2 separate regions of the Homo sapiens genome follow, and region 2 is linked to region 1. Evidence: promoter capture Hi-C in human tissues and cell types (Jung and others, 2019). All regions are on one chromosome and are shown on one strand. The core of a region is centred on a gene start or on the middle of the fragment in contact, and the rest is flanking DNA. Distances in the headings are between cores, read along the strand shown.

Region 1 (6,873 bases), core at 2,132-4,631:
CAGATCACCTGAGGTCGGGAGTTTGAGACTAGCCTGACCAACATGGTGAAACCCTGCCTCTACTAAAAATACAAAATTAGCCAGGCCTGGTGGCACATGCCTGTAATCCCAGCTACTCGAGAGGCTGAGGCAGGAGAATCACTTGAACCTGGGAGGCGGAGGTTGCGGTGAGCCGAGATCACGCCATTGCACTCCAGCCAGTGCAACAAGAGCAAAATTCCGTCTCAAACAAACAAAAAACAGAACAAACAAAAAAACAAATATAAAACACTTCTTCAGAAGTGTTTTGAAAGACTAAGTAACTGTCACAGATTGAAGCAGACCAAGTAGACATGACAACTAAACGTAATGAGGAATTCTAGATTGGAGCCTACAACAGAAAAAGAATGCTTAAATAAACTTTTAAAAGTCTGCAGTTTAATTAATAGTACTGTACCAACGTAAATTTTTTAATTTTGATGAACGTACTATGGTAATCCAAGATAGCAACTTGAGACAAACTAGGTAAAAGGTGTAAGAGAACTCTGAAAGTCTACAATTATTCCAAATAAAAAGTTTGCTGGCCAGGCGCGGTGGCTCACACCTGTAATCCTAGTACTTTGGACGGCCGAGGCAGGTGGATCACCTGAGGTCAGGAGTTTGAGACTAAAAATATGAAAATTAGCTGGGCGTGGTGGCGCATGCCTGTAATCCCAGCTACTCAGGAGGCTAAGGAGGGATAATTGTTCAAAGGGGATGGGGCGGGGCAGAGGTTGCAGTGAGCTGAGATCATGCCACTTCACTCCAGCCTGGGTGAAAGAGCGTTAACTCTGTCTCAAAAAAAAGGTTTGTCTTATCTTACATTGAGAAGTTCCAGTCATTCAGTCATCATCATTTTTATCTGATTTATTTCCATTTTAGGTATTACAGGTTTTGTTTTGTTTTTTTGAGACGGAGTTTCACTCTTGTTGCCCAGGCTGGAGTACGATGGCGTGACCTCCACTCACTGCAACCTCCGCCTCCTGGGTTCAAGCAATTCTCCTGCCTCAGCCTCCCAAGTAGCTGGGATTACAGGTGCCCGCCACCATGCCCAGCTAATTTTTTGTATTTTTAGTAGAGATGGGGTTTCACCATGCTGGCCAGGCTGGTCTTGAACTCCTGACCTCAGGTGACCCACCCACCTCAGCCTCCCAAAGTGCTGGGATTACAGGCATGAGCCACCATGCTCAGCCAGGTATTAAAGATTAACTTGGTAAGTGGCTCTTAAAAATCGAGGACATTTAATACTGTCAATTTTTATCTACCAATTTGGATTCCTTCTTTCATTAATTTGTCATATATTTATTGAGAACCTACTGTATGTTCCAGTACTGCCTTGAGGCGTCTATGAGGAGACAGATTCGTGGTATGCTAAACAGTGACAGCTGCTACATAGTAATATAAAACAAGAGGCGGGCACGGTGGCTCACGCCTGTAATCCCAGCATTTTGGGAGGCTGAGGCAGGCAGATCACCTGAGGTCGGGAGTTCGAGACCAGCCTGACCAATACGGTGAAACCCCGTCTTTACTTAAAATACAAAAATTAGCTGGGCGTGGTGGCACACACCTGTAATCCCAGCTACTTGGGAGGCTGAGGCAGGAGAATCACTTGAACCCAGGAGGCGGAGGCTGCAGTGAGCCGAGTTTGCACCACTGCACTCCAGCCTGGGCAACAAGAGTGAAACTCCGTCTCAAAAATAAAATAAATAAAATAAACAAGGAAAAAGAAAATAAATTTAAGAATAGGAAGGAAAAAAAGAAATTCATAAATTCAATCTTACAGAACACCTAACAATTCGCCTGAGAGTCACAGAAATGTACTCTTTCACATTGTTTCTAATACAAAATCTTGAAAATTGCAAAATACAGTGTTATGTTTTACTATAGTTTACTCTCTGACATCGTAGACTGCTTATGCACTAATTCTTCCTGGATACCGGAAGCCAGAGAAAACCTAGCGGTGGAATACTTGCCATTTTTCATGCTTTTTGTCAGTTTCCTTTTTAAGTGCATACTGAGGTTTATCTTCAAAACATTCTCATCTTTTCGGCTTACAGTAAGACTTTTTTTTTTTTCTAACCAAAATGTGTCTGCCTTTCATTAAGATAACATAAAAGAGCAGCCTAATTCTTTGGTCCCTGAATATGCACACACATGCATGCACACACACACACGCAGACACACACACAACACATGGAGGCTCTCTGAAACTGCTTAATCAAATTACTGCTCAAACCACTCCCTGGCACTTCCTTGCAAAACAACCAACCTAATACTGAGTTTTTAGTTTTGCACTACAAGCCGTTTGAAACAGAATAACATTCTTTCCTGGCCACCACTTTTAAATTCGGAAGGAGACAATACTCTGATCTCTTAGGCCTGTGCAAGTCAGAGTGTGCTACAATCGCTGCAGGTTAGAGCTCTGCCTTTGTTTAAAAACTGCATTTTATATACTAGTTACTTCATTGTGAAAGATAACCACCCTGACAAACAAGATTTTGCTATTTTTCTGCACAAATGTCACTTCACCATTTAGAGCTTCATGCAAATGTGTCTCCTACAGAAAATAAACTGCAAACACGATTTCTTAATTATCCTCGCCAAAAAAAAAATGTTTTAGTGGTGTCATAATGCCAGCACTAATTTTAGCCAAAATAAGAACAAATGCATTCTACAAATTCAGGAGATTATAATTTTTAAAAAGCAGTAGTATGGATATACTTAATGTCACTGAATTACACACTTCCAAATGGTTAAATGGTAAACGTTTATGTATTGTATGGTAAATGTTATGTGTTATTTTGGCACAATATTGTTTCCTCACAATAATACTAACAGGTTTTTTAAAAAGCAAGAGCACGCTCTCATTTCGTAATATATATTTATGGATGTCAGTGTGCAGAATTATGCACAGATATTTTAAATGTCAGGAGGCCTGGAGACAGATTTCAGGATTGCGGCTACTTTTACTTTTCTTCTACTTTCCCGTGTTATCTAATTGTCTCTGATAAATACGCTTTATATGCAGAATTGGATGAAACGAGAAAGCCCGGAGAAACCCGGGCTCCAGATTCTCTACCCCGGACGCCTGGGAGGCAAAGAGGTTCTAGATACGCCCTCAGCGTGGCGGGGGCGGGATCCACCGCCAGACCCCCGCCACGGGCGCAGCCTCCAGGCCGGGCCCCGTCCGCCGCCCGGGCAGGCCCGAGAATGCCGCGGACTTCGGGGAGCCCCGCGCCCGCAATGCCGCCACCCCCACCCCCGCGCCCCGCCAGGCCTCTCACCGACTCCCGCCGCCGAGCGACAATCGGTCCACCCGCCGCCACCGCAGCCGCCCGTCCCGCGCCTACCTCCCGGCGGCTCCAGTCGCGCACGCGCGTCGGCGCCCGGGGCCCTCCGCGGCCTCTCTAGGAAACTGGGAGGCCCAACGTCTCTGCTTCTCTCCGGCTCCGGTGCGGCGGGCGGCGGGGCTTGTCCAACATCCCTCACCTCCCTCAGTTGGACATTTCCCTTCCACGCTCGGATGCCCAGCCGCGCCTGTTTTCTTGCATCCCTCCTGTCGTGTCTGCGGGGCTGCCCTGAAGGCCTCTTTCCCTCCAGGGAAGAAAGGGATCCAAAGCTAGGGGTGAAAATAGGGCCAGCAGTATCTAGCAGACTGGTCCTGGCCAGGAGAAGGGGTTAAGGGAGCCACTCATTCTTCGCCTGGGTACACTTCAAAGAGGGGAACCAGATCCTACGGGAAGCTAGGTGCCAGAACTCCTGCCTTTCCAAGACGAGCTCATCCCCATCATCACCATACCCAGGAATACTTGTTCATAGCCAGCTCAGAGGTGCACCATACTTTAGCTTCCCACGGCCTTCACTCGTTTTCTCCTGTGGGTGAATTCTAACTAGGCTCGCCTGGTGAGTGAACAATGATGCCATTGCCCAATAATATGTGGAATCTGGGAGGAGTAGGTTGGGGGTAGGGGGTGGAGGGGCTGCTTGAAGAGGAGGTGAAGCAACCTGGAGAGGTTGCCCACCCCCTGTAGGAGCAAATGTCATCTATTGCCAGTGCCAGAGAACCTTGAGGGTGCACAGCCAAAGCCATAAGGCCATCTGCTGCCATTGGAGGGCATGCTACAAGCTGCTGTCCTGGTAGTCCTCTGGTTTGTGCTTCCTAGTGGCAGGCTGCAACATGTTGACGATTGATCTTTCAGATGGGCATTGATGATGCCCATCTGTGCCCTGAGGCTTTGCTTTACTCATCTGATCCACCCCTTTTTAATGCCCCAGTCACCAAAGATGGAAACAGAGAATAGATCCTGAACACCAGGAAGATGGTGACAAGGTGATAGAGAAACAGATGGCACATTCAAACAAGGTAAGTGGGGAGAGTTCACAAGGGGCGATTTACACAAAGTGGACAGGGTTAAGGAAATGCAACACGGAGTGGTGCAGAATCCCATGGCTAGCAAAATTTAGAAGCTATTCTCACCCCTAGGAGCAGGCCATCTGAGAGAAACTGTGGCTTTCAGTTGAGGGCTACATCCAAGCCATAGTCCAGCACAAAGGAAGCTGAGGTAATAAATAACCTGAACCCAGCTCTCTTCTGATCTCCTGCCAGGGCTTCCCATTGGCCCAACTCAACTGGAAGCCAGAGGGCAATCCAGGAAACTCAGTCTCCCAAGTGTCACAGCAGGGTTGAGGACTGAGACTGAATATGGAGGGGCAATTGGAAAATATCCAACACATACAAAAAGGAAAATAGAAACTGCTTGTCAATGCCTAATTTGTCCATTAATTTCCACTCGATATAATGTTCTTGAGTGACTCAGAACCACCCATAGTGGTGAGAAGAGTTTTCAAGTTTTGTTTGAGAACAAAATTTTCCCATCGTAGAAGAGTTTGAGCAGGTTCTCTGTGTTTGGGATGTACTTACTGGATGTTTTTCAACGTGATAGGTGGTTAGCATGGATAGCACCCACATTTAGTGTGATCAAACAGATCAACCAAATTGGCTTCACCAGCACTTGCAAAGTTCGGGAAGCAGCCACTGGGAGTGCAGCTCTGATTTTAAGACCTATACAGCTTCTTGAATCTCGAAGTTCTGCTAATACCTGATTTCTCCGAGTGCCACAGCACTCGAGCCTATAACCATGAGGTTTCTTCACTTTTCTGGTAGGAGGCATATTCTTGCTAGCTGTACTTCCTGAGCACTGTACTCTTTCAGATCGGGGCAGTTTGCTTAGTAAAAGCCCTAGGTAAGATTCTCAAATTCTCATGTGCATATGAATACAAATCACTTGGGATCTGGTTAAACTGTAGATTCAAATTCAGGAGGTCTGGGGAGGGACCAACGAATATTTTTAACAAACTTCCAGGTGTACCCATATTGCAGTTCTTGGACCACACTTGGAGAAGCAAAGAACTGTGCATGTAAATCAGTGGTTCTTAACTTTGCTGCAGATTAGAATCCTCCTCAGAGCTTTTAAAAAGTCCATACCTCATATCAATTCAATCCAAATCTTTGTGGGTGAGACACTGACAAGCCTAGATTTTAAAATCCCTAGATGATTCCAACATTTGAGAACCTGGAAGTAGATAATTATCCTTTTACCCTGATTCCTTGCTACATGTAAAAACCACATGCTAAAGGATTGCATGTTCATTTGCTTCTTTGTTTTGGAATTTAAAGTGTATCAGGATTCTGCCTTTCAAACAGAAGGGGGAAATTTCCTCCTTAATTTTTTTCTTCTTATTTTGAAATGGGGAAGAAAAAATTGGGGTGTTGAGATGGGGATCTGGAATGTGACTTGAGAAAAGAGATAAGATGTTAAAACTAAGAATCAGTTGTGGGCAAACAAATTGGCCTGGTAGGATTTTCACTCCTTTTCTGGCCTCAAACTCAGCCCCTTCTCTGTAGTTTGAAGGAGGCAGGTTGAAATATTAGGATGAAAATAAAATAGAGCAATGTATCTGAGGATGGTGATTACTGTGATCCATTGGATTAGTGTACTCTTCTATAAGAAAAACATAAAACAAATGTTTAAGCAGTTAAATTATGTGTAATTGTGGCCATTTGAAATATATTACATATTATATCATATAATTAATCTTCTCTGAATTCCCCCTTCTGCCTCTAATTCTAAGATATTGAAAAATACATTTTAATGAGATTTTAGAAGGTGATCCAACTTTAAATGAATTTTAAAATTATCATTTATATCAAAGAAATACTGATGCATTTAGTACTAATGAAGGACTTAAAATGAAAAATTGAACTCAACTCCCTCCTCCACCCTCCATCTTTTTCTGCAGAGGATATTCCTTGCATCTGAACATAAAAGTAGAGAAAGAGAGAGGATCAGGAAGCCAGGAGAGAATATACACGAATTTAAACTTTATTGGTAGTGGAGGGGGTGAAAGAATCTTTGAGTCAGACCATAGCCATGAGGAAGAAAAACTATGGAATCTTTGCTTTTATGCATTGCTATACCTCAAGTACTTAGAACAGCACTGACTACATAGTATGTACTCAATAAACATTTGTTGACTAATCAATCTTCTCTATGTCTAACCCAGGCCCTTAGGAGGTCTCTATTGTGATAATAGCCAAATCCTCAAACAGGCCAGATTTAGCTGGCATGATAACGAAGGCCCCTCCGCTTTAATCCTTACAAGGAAAGTAATCTGAAATAACTAATGCCAACCAGTCTGCCTTTGGTTCCCTATTTTTGCTTTCTTTGGCCTTTTTCTGCTTATAAAGCCAATCTCCTCTGTTCAGCTTATCAGAATACCCGTTCTATTTTATAGAATGAGATGTTGCCCGAATCTAGAATCACTAACAAAACCTAATTTGGTCTTTATTATTTA
Region 2 (6,873 bases), core at 2,484-4,983, 72 kb before region 1:
AGATGGAAAAGACTGACAACAAGGAAAAATATTGGTTATTTCTTGATTAACAGGAATCTTTATTGTTTTAAAATTTTCAAACTGTTGATATAAAAAGAACTTTATCTGTATCTTGATTAAGTTGAGAAGAAAACTTAAAGTACAAAACTCATCTTAGGCCCGGCACGGTGGCTCATGCCTGTAATCCCAGCACTTGGGGAGGCCGAGGCAGGCAGATCACTTGTGAGGTCAGGAGTTTGAGACCAGCTTGGCCAACATGGTGAAACCCCATCTTTACTAAAAATACAAAAGTTATCCAGGTGTTATGGCGGTCACCTCTAGTCCCAGCTACTCAGGAGACTGAGGCAGGAGAATGGGTTGAACCCAGGAGGCAGAGGTTGCAGTGAGCCGAGATCATGCCACTGCACTCCAGCCTGAATGAAAGAGTGAGAAAAAGAAAAAAAATAAACGTTTTAACTATTGATATAAATAAAACTTTATCTGCATTTTAATTAACTTGAGAAGAAACCTTAAAGCAAAAAATCATTTTAGGCCGTGCACAGTGGCTCAAGCCTGTAATCCCAGCACTTTAGGAGGCCAAGGCAAGGAGATCACTTGAGCCCAGGAGTTCAAGACCAGTCTAGGCAACATGGTGAAACCCTGGGCAATATGGTGGGGAAAAAAAAAAAAAATTAGCCAGGCATGGCACCATGCCTGTATCCCAGCTACTCAGGAGGCTGAGGTGGGAGGATTGATTGAGCCTGGGTGGTCAAGGCTGCAGTGAGCTGTGATCACACCTCTGTACTCCAGCCTGGGTGACATAATGAAATCCTTTCTCAAAAAAATATATGTATCATTTTAGTTCCTAAGCAGTATTGTTTTTATGTTGTTTGTATCTTTGAAGGAGTCCTATTATAGCCAACAGTTTCCTGTTTTGTAGGTGGTAAGATATTGCTTGATAATGTTTTATGTATCACTTGTGAAGAAATGAAGTCATTTACTTAGCCAGCATTTACTGTGACTGTTACGTGCCCAAAGCTGAGATCAATGCCATTGATAGAAAGACTCAGACATGATCTCTGCCTCCTGGAATTGTTTCTAGTAGGAGATGTGAGTGCTGTAAATTTGCCAGTGGTAGCTGGAGCACAGTCAAGTGGGAAGAGCCAAAGCTGACACCCTGGTAGCATAGGGGACAAGGGAAGGCAACAGCAGGGAACAGGATGGAAGCTGGAGAGAATGCCATTCCACATGTCCATGGAGGGAAGTTTCAAGGAGAAGAGAAGAGGACAGGGTGATGGAACCTGGTTGTTTAGCAGGGTGCCAGTGGAAGCAGTTCTCCCGCCTTACCGTTCATTTGAGGCTCAGTTTCCACAAAGTACTCATTTAAAAAGCCAGGAATCTTAAATATAGAGAGAGGCTAGATATGGTGGCTCACACCTTTAATCTCAGCACTTTGGGAGGCCGAGGTGGGCGGATCACTTGAGGTCAGGAGTTTGAGACCAGCCTGGCCAACATGGTGAAACGCCGTCTCTACTAAAAATATAAAAATTAGCTGGGCGTGGTGGCATGCACCTGTAATCCCAGCTACTCGGGAGGCTGAGACAGGAGAATCACTTGAACCTGGGAGGTGGAGCTTGCAGTGAGCCGAGATCATGCCATTGCACTCCAGCCTGGGCAACAGAGCGAGACTCCGTCTCAGAAAAATAAATAAATAGAGAGAAGGGATGGCAACTAACGATGGAAGCCATTCTTTTAGCAAGAGACAGTGAGATCATTTTATATATAAAGTAAATGAAGGAGCAGCATCTCTTTTGTTTTCCTGTTTTCCTTATGGAATTGATGACAACTCGGTAGGCCAGATCCTATCACACCCTACCTCTTGATTGGTTGTTAAGTATTTGTTCATGCTATTTCTTTTCTAAATTTTACATCTGCTTTAACCCTCAAGAGCAATTCTAGCCAACTGTTCATCATTAGGACTGATTATTTTGTTTGCTATAACCTATCGGCTGCTTTTTCTCTTTTTCTCTATGGCCATTATATAGCTTTGGAGTAATGCTTATTAGATTGTGAGAAAGGAAAGTAAAAATAAAAAAATTCAAATAGGTCAATTTGTGAATGTTCCGTCCTACCAGTTGCTCAGGCGAATAAAAACCCATGAATCATCTTGATTCCTCTCCCCTGTCTCACTCCCTACCCCAGTCCACCTTCAGAGCAGACATGGAAAGAAACTCACCTCTTCTCCTTTCCTTTCCTGCTGCACCTGGTCTGAGCCTCCATCATTTTGTGATGGCCTCTTGTCTGGTCTTCAGGCTTCCACACTCAGCATCTCCCCAACCCCGCAGTGGACTCTCGTCAGAGCAGCAGTGGGAACCTAGTCAGAGCTGTCACTCCTCTGCCCAGTGCCCACAGACCCTCTGCCCACTCCCTTGCTTCTCTCAGCTCAGCTCCTGGGACTCTCCTCTCACTCGTTCTGCTCCAGCCTTTTTATAGTCCTCGGGCACTCTTGACATGTTATCCACTCCTGGGCCTGTGTGCCTTCCCCCAGCCTGAGGCACTCCTTCCTCAGAAATCTCAGCTTCCTCAGGCCCTGCTCACATTCCACCTTCTCTGGCCACACAACTCGAAGCATGGAGTCCCCACCCTCTGCTGCACTCCCCTCTCCACCTCAGCTGGCCTGCCTTTCTCCATCCACCTCAGCAAATTTGCTGTTTCCTTATTAATGTATTCTCTCTCTCTCCTTCCCAACAGAAGGTAAGCCCACTGAGGGAAGACTTCAGTCTATTTTGTTCCCTCCGGTGCCAACTGGGATGGGTGCCTGGCACACAGGGGGCCTTCAGGAAATACCGATTGACCTTTCACCTGCTTCCTTAGCCTTTTTCTGGCTCTGGGCCCCAGAGTCCTCATCCCTATACTTAGCCCCCAAGAAGAGAAAGCACTTGCTGTTGGTCCCAACCTTCCTTCCTGCTCAGTCATCATCCTCATGCCCCTGACTCTGGGCCCAGGAGCCTCTCCTCGCCTTTGCTGTCTTTCCTTCCTTTGCTCTGCTGTCCCTGCCCTAGTAAGACACCTTCATTATATTCGAAGAGCAGTGATGAAGACTAACTTCTTTCCTTCAGTGAAGCATGTTCCTAGAGAGTGGTTTTCAGATACTTTTTCACTTATAAGGTGGATTCTTAAGTGGAAACATAGTTTATTTTTATTAGGTTGGTGCAAAAGTAATTGCAGTTTTTGCCATTTTTTTATGGCAAAAAACTGCAATTACTTTTGCACCAACCTAATAAAAAAGATTAAAGCTCTCAGCTGTTCTAGTTCAAAAGAAAAGGAGCCAGAGGCCACCCATGCTCACAGGGTCCTCACAGTAGCAGCTCTGCTGGACTCTCAGCTTGCTGAATAGTTAGAAAAAGGGAAAAAACCCACACTATTCTAAGCTAGTATGTACAACCCACATGACCATCCCAAAACTGTGTGACTTGTAGCTCCTGTCTCTTGGCATTGCCTGGCTGGCATATAGACAGTATTTGCTGCCTGTGGAACCCCCAGTCCTTTGGAGGCTGGTGATAACCTAGTTCACAGTTCTTCTGTAGGGTGGTAATAACCCAGAGTAACCTGCACCTGAGAATCAACCAGCTCTCCCTAGCAGGGGCATTCCTCACTTTATGTTTTTATAGTAACCCACTCAGATGTTTCCTTTTACTCTATATCATATATTTCAAATTTTAAAATCACTTAAATAAGTTGGAAACAATCAAAATGTACAGTAATAGAAGAGTGTTTAAGTAGTTCTGATACTTGCATGTAGTAGAAACAATGACTAAAGGGTGGGCATGGTGGCTCACAGTTATAATCCCAGCACTTTGGGAGGCTAAGGCAGGAGGATCACTTGAGCCCTGGAGTTCAAGACCAGTCTGGGCTACATGGTGAGACCTCGTCTCTACAAAAAATTTAAAAATTAGCTGGGTGTGGTGGTTTGCACCTGTAGTCTCAGCTACTTGGGAAGCTGAGGCAGGAGGTTTGCCTAAGCCTGGGTGGTCAAGGCTGCAGTGAACCATGGTCACGACAGTGATACTCCAGCCTGGGCAACAGCAAGACCCTATCTCAAGGCCAGGCACAGTGGCTCACACCTGTAATCCCAGCACTTTGGGAGGCTGAGGCGGGTGGATCACCTAAGGTCAGTAGTTGAAGACCAGCCTGGCCAACATGGCAAAACCCTGCCTCTACTATAGAAAAAACAGCCGGGCATGGTGGTACATGCATGCAATCCCAGCTACTTGGGAGGCTGAGGCAGGAGAATCGCTTGAACCTGGGAAGCAGAGGTTACAGTGAGCCAAGATCACGCCACTGCACTCCAGCCTGGGCGACAGAGCAAGACTCCATCTCAAAAAAAAAAAAAAAAAAAAATTAATCTCATGCTGACTGCAGAGGCACCCAAGGATGAGGAAAGGCTGGTACACGTTATTTTCCTGTTGAGGGGACAACCCTGGGCAACCTTAACAAGGGCTGCCTTCTCAATGCTTCTCTAAGATTGTACCTCAGAAGAACTGATGGGTTCTCCTGATATAAAGCTTGTGACCCATGGGTCTGGGAAACCTGGAGATGAGACTGTAGGCTTCTCCTAAAAGGAATGAAAATGAGAGTCTTGCCCAGATTTTAAAGATATATTGTTGGAGAACTATGCAGCAACATGGTCACACTACAAGGCTTTTCACTTCCAAGCATGGTTGTTAATATCTTTTCTTGACAAGTGAAAAATCCCTTTACAGAAAAAGTTACTCATCCCCTGCTATTGATAGAAGTTTAAGGGTTCTTTCTGTCTAATCCTGGAGAGATTAGAAGCAGGCCCAGCTGTGAAACATTTGCAGAACCATCAGCCCTGACTGCTGTCTGTCTGCTTGAATCTCTAAGCAGCATATTCTAAGTAAGAATAATCTTACAGAAAAAGCAAACAGCACTTAAGAAAGTGATCAGTATTATAGGCCATGATAACTAACTGCTATGACCATTTCTGTTTTTTACTGTCTAGTTTATGGAAATTTTATAGTACCTACTTTTCTATGCAGTGTTTAAGGGTGATTAAATGTAAGATATTTGGACATTTTAAACCAATGAAGTATTTTAAATAGACTGGTTCAGGGACACGACCATGGCAGTTTTGCTTTATTCACGTTGTTAAATGGGCTTGCTGAGTAACTCATGTGTTGGTCTAGATGTAGCACATTGAATCCACTTATCAAAACACTGTATCCCTAAGCACTTGCCACCTGTGGGAGAAAGTATTTGAGACACTGAGTTCTGCCTAGAGTTGTATACTTTGTAGACCTGAACTGAAGCCCCTGATGGAATAAGAGAGTTGTAACCTCAGGCAGAGGGGAGGGAACAGACAGGGGGCTGGTGAGGTAGGAGAGTAAGAGTGAAGAGAACCTGTCCTCCTCAGGATCCTGGTTTTCTGTGAGCCTGCTTTTATCTGGGAAATCTTTAGACAGCATTACTTCCCAAGGGTTAAACTTTAGGTGGGTCCTAAAACTAGGGGTTTTATATTCTTCATTTTCTCCTTCCTTCAGTCACTAACAGCTGCTAGGTAAGGCAATATAAGAGCTTTTTTAAATTTATGTTATTTTTAGCCCTTTACTGCTAAAAACATTAACAAATACTTTTAGAGATCCATGTGACAGTAACTCAAAAGATTTAACAATGATGGCTATTGGCGTGTCTTCCAAACGTATAATTTGGCCTTTGTGGGTGGCATTTTCAGTGTTGTGAGTGCACAGTTAGGGCCCCAACATGTAAGAATATATTTACATTGTGTGTTCTTTTGTTTGGTTATGACAATATTTGTTCTTATGACAATATTTTTATTTTCTATATAATAGGTTAAAGGTTATTGAAAATGAATTGATACAGGCATCAACAAAGAAATTTTCTTTGGAGAAGTTATATAAAGAGCCCAGCATTTCTAGTATACAAATGGTGGATTGTTGTAAGAGACTTCTAGAACAATCACTGCCTTACCTACATGGGATGCACCTCTGCATTTCACATTTTTACTCTGTTATGCAAGATGGAGACCTTTGTATTCCTTGGAATTGGAAGAATGGAGAAGCCATTAAGTAACACAGAAATCTGTTTTATTTTTTTAAGAGATAAGAAAGGAACTTAAATTAAAAATATTTAAATCCACAATTTGATATAACAGTATTATTTACATAAGAACAAAGTTTCTAACTGCTGCTTTAAAAGTAGACTTTTTTAAAAAAATTAATTTCTGCTAGGAGAGGTTTTATATGCCAGGCGTGGTGGCTCATGCCTGCGGTCCCAGCTACTTAGGGAGGCTAAGATAGGAGGATCACTTGAGCCCAGGAGGCCAAGGTTGCAGTGGGCCCAGATTGCACCATTGCCCTCCAGCCTGAGCAACAGAACAAGACCTTGTCTCAAAAAATAATAATGATAATTTAAAATAAATAAGTAACTAATAAAAAGATTTTATATCCCAGTCTTATGATGTTGGTTGGCAAGGCTAGATAAAAAGATGTTAGAATGAAAGAACATATTTTTAGTGATATGTAAATGAAGGATTCTACAATAGTCATATATTTTTATATGAATGAATGTTGGGTTGGGCTGGAGAGGTATGTGTGTGTAAATATAAAGGTCTCACATTCAGAGTATAGCTCTGAAATAATGGAACTCATGTCTACAATTCAACATGCATCTGTATAGTTACATCTCATGTAAATATACACAGACATATTTTGCAGCCAGTAATTGACAGTTAATGTCCAAAACAGGTGATTGATAGGTAACAGAAATTAGATAACCACCAATTTTGCCCAAGAGAAAGACTAGAAGGACTAAAAGCAGTTGAATGTATGGTACTGACATTGTCATAAGCAGTCT

The links. Contacts are between HindIII fragments. The study calls those that stand out against the background at their distance.
Region 2: a fragment that was not itself captured here is called in contact with the fragment with the promoter of ZNF445 in region 1 in 2 of the 25 tissues and cell types used here (H1 embryonic stem cells and spleen).

The regions. Positions count from the first base shown.
Region 1 is chr3:44,474,289-44,481,161 of GRCh38, forward strand. ZNF445 (zinc finger protein 445) reads right to left here and starts at 3,382. Exons shown (of 8, transcript NM_181489.6): 1 at 3,303-3,382. LOC101928529 (a long non-coding RNA gene) reads left to right here and starts at 3,402. Exons shown (of 4, transcript XR_940785.4): 1 at 3,402-3,921; 2 at 4,294-4,381. RefSeq lists silencers at 3,130-3,179, 3,200-3,359. The HindIII fragment of the contact is 14,864 bases long and covers 1-6,873 here.
Region 2 is chr3:44,401,593-44,408,465 of GRCh38, forward strand. It overlaps TCAIM (T cell activation inhibitor, mitochondrial), which reads left to right. Exons shown (of 11, transcript NM_173826.4): 11 at 5,850-6,873. The coding sequence ends at 6,090. Among named protein-coding and RNA genes, the nearest start is that of LINC01988, 23 kb to the right of the region's middle. The HindIII fragment of the contact is 8,371 bases long and covers 1-6,873 here.